Linked DNA regions of Homo sapiens: regions 1 and 2 are each linked to region 3. The links are contacts of gene promoters, found by promoter capture Hi-C in blood cells and fetal thymus (Javierre and others, 2016). All regions are on one chromosome and are shown on one strand. The core of a region is centred on a gene start or on the middle of the fragment in contact, and the rest is flanking DNA. Distances in the headings are between cores, read along the strand shown. Region 1 overlaps RNF10 (ring finger protein 10). Region 2 overlaps MLEC (malectin). Region 3 holds the start of SIRT4 (sirtuin 4).

Region 1 (2,905 bases), core at 176-2,675, 260 kb before region 3:
AATGCAGACCTAAGAGCCAAGCTCCCTAGATGTTTATCTTAGCTGTCGTGTTCACTGATTTAACACCCCTGGGGAAAGAACTAATAACAAGCATACAGAAAATACTCATTGTCCCCTCTTCTCTTGAGAAGGTTTAGATCTCACAGTAATGCCTACCAGCTCAATGACAGCATTTGAGGAACGGCAGCCACTTAGTAACAGGAACACACTAACCTTCCTGGGTTGAAAAACAGACTCCTTCGCCAAGGGAGCCATCAGCACCAGTTGTTCCAGAGCAGCCACAACACCAGTGACCTCCCTTCTGCTTCCGGCCAATCCCGACAGAGCCTCTTCCCGAGTCTAACGTGGCCAGAGAGAACACCAGAGAAGGTTAAGTTTCCAGACACACACTTAGCTTGAAGGGCAAGGGCTTAGAATGGCCTCTCAACAGGACCAAAAGTTAAAAGGCAATGAGACCCAATGGGAAGGAATTAGGTGCTTAAATATCTCAACTTTGAGGGAAACAGGAAGCAAAAAGCATGCAATACCCACTAAGGATTGGAATCTGCTTAGAATCTGACACTGGGGAGTGTAAATTAGTTCAATCATTGTGGAAGACAGTGTGGTGATTCCTCAAAGACCTAAAGACAGAAATAAAATTTCACCCAGCAATCCCATTACTGGGTATATAGCCAAAGGAATATAAATCATTCTACTGTAAAGACACATACGGCCAGGTGTGGTGGCTCATGCCTGTAATCCCAGCACTTTGGGAGACTGAGGTGGGCGGATCACCTGAGGTTGGAAGTTCAAGACCACCCTGACCAACATGGAGAAACCCCATCTCTACTAAAAATACAAAATAACCCAGGCATGGTGGGGCATGCCTGTAATTCCTGCTACTCAGGAGGCTGAGGCAGGAGAATCACTTGAACCTTGGAGGCAGAGGTTGTGATGAGCCGAGATCACGCCACTGCACTCCAGCCTGGGCAACGAGAGCAAAACTCTGTCTCAAAAAAAAAAAAAAAAAAAAGAAAGAAAGAAAAAGAAAAACCAAATATCGCACACATGTTCTCACTTCTAAGTGGGAGCTAAATGATGAAACATGGACACATAGAGGGGAACACACACTGAGGCCTATCAGAGGGTGGAGAGTGGGAGGAGGGAGGGGATCAGGAAAAATAACCAATGGGTACTAAGCTTAATACCTGGGTGAAAATCTGTATAACAAACCCCCATGACACAGGTTTACCATGTAACAACCTGCATTTGTACCCCTGAACTTAAAAGTTAAAAAAAATAAAAGAGAATCTGACACAAACAACACTATACAAAAAACTTCCAGAACAGAAATCTAAGAACATGAAACTAACCTAGTTTTTACAAACTATGCTCAGACAGAGGTCCAGAGTAGTAGGAAGGATTTAGCTAACTCCACCTCAGCCTGGACAGCTCTAATTCTATGTAGCCTTTCTTATGCCTGTAATGGCATTTGAACAAATACGGCTGCAACGTATTATAGAAAGAAAGCAAAAGTTAAATACACAGGACTCTACCCAAGGAGCCCTTGGGAGTCAGGGAGAAGGGAATTCAAATACCAGCTGCATCCCTTACTAGCAAATTACCCAACCCAGGATTCAGTTTCCTCATCCATGAAAGGGGATAGTTCTATCTACCACACTAGAAGCTTAAGTGAGATAAATGTGTATAGCACAAGTCCTATCAAATGCTGATCACTCAATAAATATGGGCTTCTATTGCTCTAAGCTAGATCAGTGGTTCCAGGAGTGTGGTCTGGGGATGAGCAGCCATCAGAATCACCCTAGAACTTGTTATATGCAAATTACTGAGCCTACTGAGCTTAACCTATGCAATCAATATCTCAAAGTGGGACCTAACAACCAGTGGTTGTGATGCTTCAAGAATCTCTGTTGTGGAAGATAAAAGACCCAGGGAATTCTGTTCTTGTGTAATTCTTGCCGTTTCAGGTACTCCTAAGGCATACTGGGCAGGCCATAATACTTTCTCCACAATGTCTTTCAAAACACCTCTAGAATAGAATCTTAAGTATTTTCCCAGAAAACAAAGAACTCTAACTTGCTTTAAGAACATAGCTAATCTAAAAAACTCCACTGTCACAATTAGTTATAAAATCATTTTGACTTGCTCCTTTCAGCTCTAGAAAGAGCTTTAAAAGCCCTAGGTTAAACCTTCTCTACTGTCATCAAACAAAGCCCAAAACAAATTGGCTTTTTTAGCCATTCTCTGCTTATTGTCTTAAATGTGGAATGGAACTAACTTAATCCCCAGCGTCCATCATCTCACCCCCGACAGAGTGAAAAGGTTTAGCATTTCTGGTTTTCACCACAGAACGCCGAGAAAGTGAAAAGGTTTAGCATCTCCAATGCATCCTCTCACCTTGAGCTCCTGGATAGCTGCCTCAATAAAGCAGGACTCGGGAGTGTGCTTCTCCTCTGCCAGCTGCTGCTCTAGTGCTACTTTCTCCTCCAGAACTACCCGGTGCAGCACCTGCTCCTTAGAGGCCAGCAGCAACTTGGAGTACTGGCTGTGCTGTTCATCTATAAGAATGCCAGCAAGATCAAAGAAATGCAACATTCAAAGCTCACGATGGTGTAGCTAAATAGGAATTTTCAAATACAGCCTTTTCTCTGGGGTGAAAATGGGGTAATTTAGCATGATTTCCTAGAAAATAATTTAACAATGGTCTTAAAATAAGGTCTGTAGCTCTGCTCTTGATATAAGAAATCTAAGAAACCCAGAGATGTAGTCAAAACTTTAGTCACGCGTTTATTGTTACAGCATTGTATGTAATATCAGAAAAGCTCAAACCAGCCAGGCACCATGGCTCACACCTGTAATCCCAGCACTTTGGGAGGTCAAGGCGGGTGGATCACTTGAGATCAAG
Region 2 (2,899 bases), core at 351-2,850, 390 kb before region 3:
CAGGAGTCAGGGTTTCCTTCTGAGACTCTGAGTCACTGAAGGGATGTGTTGAGGTGGAAGGCGGGACCCCCTCCTTCCTCAGACAGACCCAGGCAAACTAACAAACAAGGCAAAATGGAGGCAGCCAGTCCTCCTCCTTCATCTTGACTAACCCAATGGCAGTGGCCCAGGGCTTTGGGGAATTTCGATGGGATAGGAACCAAAGCTACTGCCAGAAGCCTGTTTAGTTAGGATGTCCACTGCCCCAGGCAGGTGGTCCCCAGGACCAAGGCTACAGTACCTTATCCTTTAGAAGCAGGGGAGCTGTGTGAAGCACTATGGGAAGTATACCTCTGACTGCAGCCTCGGGCCACAACCCTCCAGCTGCCTGACTCAATACCCTAGCACTGAGACCCAAGTCACAGCGAAAACAACAGGCTACAATTCTCAAACGACTAAATGCTGGCCTGGAGTAATCATTAAAGAGCCAAAACCCAGGACATGAGCCCAAGAGCTACCTATTTTGTCACATAAGGAGCAGTTCAAATATACAGAGCTCTTAAAAAACATATCTAATAAAGCAAACTCAAAATTAAACACATTCTAGAAAAGCGGGCCTGGCCTGAGATCCTATATTGACTGCTCCAGCCCAAGCTGAAGCTAATCCTGCTGTCTCCCATCCACAAAATTCCTTCTAGCTTGGCTGGGTCCTCCTTCATTGTTGCCCTAACTGGGAAATGGATGACAATGGCCAGAAAGGAGGGGACCAGGGAAGCTTCATTTCCTATAGAAATTTTTTCAGGGAATTCAAGATCGACACTTAGATGCTAAGGTTAGCTTCAGAGCTGCCAAGGCTCTGGCTGACTGGAATTCTTTCAGTCCCATCACACCAAGAACCTGACTGCTACTTGGATAGAGAAATGAAAGGACAGGGGAAGGAGGGGCATACTATTAAGATCAATAAGAAGCATCGCTGGGCCTATATAGCTAATTAGTCTAGTTCCTTGAAGTAGCTCTAGGCATAAACCAAAACTGGCTGAACTGTGACACACAAGAACATGGGAATAAATGAACATCAGATACCAGACACTCTAAACAGTGGTCAGTCACTTAGTAGGGCTCAAATCTCTGAGGTTGCTCTTAAGCTATGCTAACATAAGCCTTTTCTAATCCAAAGACCAGAAGAGACTTTTAAGGTCAAGTGTTCTGTTGCTGCAGGCTGGAAAGCATCCCTGCCCCCTGGCAGCAAGGCCCTACAAAGGGGCCAGTAAAGAACTGCTGGGTCAGGTCCTCCTGGCTGCTGGCTCAGAGATCCAGGGAGGGAGGTACCAACAAGGTGAGGTGGTAAAGGAGAAGACATTCAAGCAGAGAACCCCAAATCCCCGTGTCTCCTTCCCTTCTTGGCTATAACTTAGTGGGATGGTTGAGAGGGAGAAGAAATTTCAAATGAGCCAGATTAAGGAAACAAACAAACAAACAAAACTGAGAAGAAATCAAGTCCCCAACAGGCACTGAAATCAAAATGATTTGTTGTGGTAACAAGTCAGAGGCGATCTGAGGACCCGACATAACCGAAACGTCTTGGATGCTGGACAGTCTATAACTGGCACATGCCAGGGAGACAAGCAATGACAAAGCTCAAACACTAAAGGTGGGACCATCACTGGATTAATCCAGAAAGGCTTCCAGATAAGGAAGCATTTTCTTTCTTTTTTTTTAATCTCCCTACTTTTTTTTTTAAGTCTTTACCGCACAAATTCTACCCCTTCACACACATTCTTTCAATCCCAGGACGTCTGAAGTCTTATCTAGACATAACTTCAGACCGTACCTAACTCCCAGTGCTGGTCGTCTCAGGTAATAAGATGGCATTTCCCTGCTGTTAATTTCTAACCTAAAAAAAGGAACAGTGACTCCTCTGAGTTCAGAGTCCTTTCCACTAGGTATACAAATGAGGATCCTTGAGCAGGAAGGATCCAGTTTACCCTAAGTATCCTCAAGAGGAAAGAGAAGGCTGGGAGCCAGCCACAAAGAGAGGACGAGGACTGAAGCACGTCTGGGACCAGGTGGTGAATGAGGGCTGCTCTCTACTCGCTCTGCCTCTTTTTGTCTCCTTTAATTGATGTGTGTTTTTTTCTCTTTGTTTTTGTTCATTAATCATTGTGAAAAATACAGAAACCAAAACCAATATGGCTGGTTTCTTTCCCACACCCCTCCACCCTGTTCAGGATAGTCATTTGTTCTCACAACCGGCAGAGGCAGAAGAGGGTTGGAATGAAGACTCCGAAGGCCACCAGGATGGGAAACATGAGGCTGCTGTTGTCCGAGGCATAGGGGTTGGGTGTGCGGGGGCCTGACTGCACCCGGTTCTTATTGGTCTGTTTTTTGAGATTAGACCCTTCATCATATTCTTCTTCTTCTTCTTCCTCTTCTTTCTTCTCCAATCCCGGATGAGGCTGAAGCTTTGGTACATCTAACACAAGGAAGAAAACACTGTTAAGACCCACAGCATTTAAGTAAGAGAGACCCTTAAAAGCAGCAAATAAGCCACAATAAAGAGATTGCTGTGATTGAACCCGGGTCCAGAGAAAAGACCAGAAGTAGCAGAAATAGCCTCTGGTCTACAGAACAGCAGAGTGCTGCAAAAGCTTTAGATTTAACTAGAAAGTAGAAAAAGCCGTGCTCATAGGGAGGTTCACTATCTTACCTTCCTGTTCTACTTTTACAGAGCCCCAAGATAACCAGACTGGACAGGGACAATGATCCAATGCCTAAACTTTAGCCTTTTCAAATCCCTCCTCCTCCCACAAGCCCACATTCCCTTTTGATTCACACAACAACTGAAGAAACGTTGACCCAGAGAGTTCTGGGTTCCCAGCACACACTATCCCTCTGTCCTGCCTCCTCCTCAGGGACTTGA
Region 3 (3,114 bases), core at 192-2,691:
GTGGAGATTCCTGCCCCAGTCATCACAAGGAGTCTCTTGGAAAGGGTGATGAAGCGCTGTAACTCTTTGACCTTCTCAGGGTCCAGAGGAGGACTTGCTGGCACAAATAACCCAATGGAGGCTTTCGAGCACGGCTGGCTGGGGTTTGCGATCCAACGGCCTTTTGCTGACCTGAAAGTCAACGCAAAGCTCATCTTCATTCTAGAGAAAAAGAAGCCTCATGTGAGAAACTGGGGTGGTTTTTTTTTTTTCTCATTTTTTGTTTGTTTGTTTTCGTTTTGTTTTTTGAGACAGAGTCTCCCTCTGTTGCCCAGGCTAGAGTACAGTGGCATGATCTTGGCTCACTGTAACCGCCGCCTCCCGGGTTCAAGTGATTCTCCTGCCTCAGCCTCCAGAATAGCTGGGACTACATGGCCACCATGCCCGGCTAATTATTGTATTTTTAGTAGAGGCAGGGTTTCACCATGTTGGCCAGGCTAGTCTCGAACTCCTGAGCTCTAGTGATCTGCCCGCCTCGGCCTCCCAACGTGCTGGAATTACAGGTGTGAGCCTCTGAGTCTGGCCCTAATGAGTCAGGTTTTGTTTGATTTTGTTCATGTAATTAAGCACACACACGCATTCCTTTTATTTTTTCATTTCCCCCTTATTTTAGTTTACCCTCCACTGCAAGCTCTGCTACTTGGACACATCAGAGAGACAAGACCCCTGCCCGTCAGCTTTTCTAGCTGTAACAATAGAGGGCCGGGTGCGGTGGCTCACGTCTGAAATCCCAGCACTTTGGGAGGCCGACGCAGGCAGATCACTTGAGATCAGGAGTTCGAGACATGCCTGGCCAACATGGTGAAACCCCGACTCTACTAAAAATACAAAAAAAATTAGCCGGGCATTGTGGCACGTGCCCGTAATCCCAGCTACTAGGGAGGCTGAGGCAGGAGAATTGCTTGAACCCGGGAGGCGGAGGTTGCAGTGAGCCGAGATCGCGCCGTTGCACTCCAGCCTGGGCGAAGAAGCAAGACTCCGTATCAAAAAAAAAAAAAAAAAGAAAAAGAAAAAACTTTGACATATTATTTGACACAATGCAATGCATAAATCCTCTAGTGACATGCACCCCGTATGTAAACATTATTTTATGTTTGGCTTTCCAGATCTGAGATCAGGACCCCGCTTTCTCCTTGACATTCCACAGCAAAACGTGAACAGCTGAACAAACACACAGTCCGGTTTCCCGAGACCAAAGGGTCAGGGGAAACCCCCGCTGAAAACGTGCATCAGTGGAACAACTACTCTCTTCCAGGTCCCACCGAGGGCAAAGAGGAGAAATAGAATCCCTCACAAGAAATCCACAACTTCTAGAAATCCGCAGCACACACAGAACACACTTACCTCTCACAGCTCTACGGACACTTCACACCCCACAGTGGGACCGTCTGATTGCATTTGCATTTTGGGACATGTAGTCCAGAAAGCTTAAATGATGCGAGAAAAACCACAAGTCCCACAATCCTCCGCGTCTCGCAATTGACAGCCCCAGATCATCCAGGAACGCCCCCTGTCGGCTCTTTCTGGTCAGAGGTTCCCCCGTTAATATAAAAGCTTTTAATCATGGATTTTTTTCTTTGTTTTCAATTTCTGTGGGCACTTAGTAGGTGTATATATTTATAGTGTACATAAGATTTTTTTTCTTTTTTCTTTTTTTTTTTTAAGACGGAGTTGTTGTTTTTTTTTTTTGAAAAAACTCCAGTCTGGAGTGCAGTGGCACGATCTCGGCTCACTGCAACCTCCCTCTCCCGGGTTCAACCGATTCTCCTGCCTCAGCCTCCCGAGTAGCTGGGATTATTTTTGTATTTTTAGTAGAGACGGGGGTTTCGCCATGTTGGCCAGGCTCGTCTTGAACTCCTAACCTCAGGTGATCCGCACGCCTTGACCTCCCAAAGTGCTGGGATTATAGGCGTGAGCCACTGCGCCCGGCCATCTTTTCTCTTATTTTTTGTCTTTTTTTCTTTTCTCTGTGCCTGTCTATGCTTTACCCACATGAGATGTTTTGATACAAACATGCAATGTGAAATGAGCACGTCATTAATCATGGATCTAGATTTGACTTTTTTTTAAAGTTTTTGTATTTTTAGTAGAGACAGAGTTTCACCATGTTGGCCAGGCTGGTCTCGAACTCCCGACCTCAGGTGATCCGCCAACCTCGGCCCCCCAAAATGCTGGGATTACAGGCCTGAGCCACTGTTCCCGGCCTAGATTTGACTCATTCTAAACATCAGAGTTTGTGATCCTTTTCATTCACAACGACAGTATCAAGTTATTTGCTATTGGTAAAATACCTTGAACTTGTGAAGAAATGTGTTTATACATATCTGAAAAAGTGATAGTTTGTTGTTGTTGTTGTTGTTGTTTGTTTGTTTGTTTTTGAGACGGAGTCTCGCTCTGTTGCCCAGGCTGGAGTGCAATGGTGCCATTTCGGCTCACTGCAACCTCCGCCTCCCGGGTTCAAGCAATTCTCCTGCCTCAGCCTCCTGAGTAGCAGGGATTATGGGCGCATGCCACTACGCCCGGTTAATTTTTTTATTTTTAGTAGAGACAAGGTTTCACCATGTTAGCCAGGATGGTCTTGATCTCCTGACCTCGTGATCTGCCCACCCTAGCCTCCCAAAGTACTGGGATTACAGGCGTAAGCCACTGTGCCCAGCCAAAAGTGATGTTTTTACAGTTAATATGAAGCCAAATATATTATACCTGGACTAATGTACTTAACCTGCTTGGCTTCTCCAATTTTATTTATCATATTTTTTTTATTAAGTTAATCAAACAAGGCCTGCGTCTCACTCCCAGGGATTCTGATCTACAAATTTCCTAATTGTTCCTAATGTGTAGACAACCAGAACTGCCGCTCTGCAGCATCACCTAAATCAATAAATGTATAAGTGTCTTTGGACATAAAGGTGGGCGGCCAGCAGGGACCTTGAAGACCACCTAAGGACTCCCTTCCCCCATTTTAAGATGAATTGGGCTGAGTGCAGTGGTTCCCACCTGTAATACCAACACTTTGGGAGGCCAAGGCAGGAGGATCACTTGAGCCCAAAAGTTCAAGACCAGCTTGGGCAACAT

The links. The method cuts DNA at HindIII sites, captures the fragments that hold promoters and counts their contacts. A CHiCAGO score of 5 or more calls a contact.
Region 1: a fragment that was not itself captured here is called in contact with the fragment with the promoter of SIRT4 in region 3 in 1 of 17 cell types (M2 macrophages); the score reaches 5.0 in M2 macrophages.
Region 2: a fragment that was not itself captured here is called in contact with the fragment with the promoter of SIRT4 in region 3 in 3 of 17 cell types (naive CD8 T cells, non-activated CD4 T cells and naive CD4 T cells); the score reaches 5.6 in naive CD8 T cells.

What each region holds. Positions count from the first base shown.
Region 1 is chr12:120,560,379-120,563,283 of GRCh38, reverse strand. RNF10 (ring finger protein 10) reads right to left here. Exons shown (of 17, transcript NM_014868.5): 7 at 2,398-2,558; 8 at 214-339. Among named protein-coding and RNA genes, the nearest start is that of POP5, 20 kb to the left of the region's middle. The HindIII fragment of the contact is 487 bases long and covers 1,182-1,668 here.
Region 2 is chr12:120,695,869-120,698,767 of GRCh38, reverse strand. It overlaps MLEC (malectin), which reads right to left. Exons shown (of 5, transcript NM_014730.4): 5 at 1-2,452. The coding sequence ends at 2,223. Among named protein-coding and RNA genes, the nearest start is that of MLEC, 10 kb to the right of the region's middle. The HindIII fragment of the contact is 1,687 bases long and covers 757-2,443 here.
Region 3 is chr12:120,300,648-120,303,761 of GRCh38, reverse strand. It overlaps SIRT4 (sirtuin 4), which reads right to left and starts at 1,441. Exons shown (of 4, transcript NM_012240.3): 1 at 1,384-1,441; 2 at 1-201. The coding sequence starts at 200. The HindIII fragment of the contact is 5,713 bases long and covers 1-1,468 here.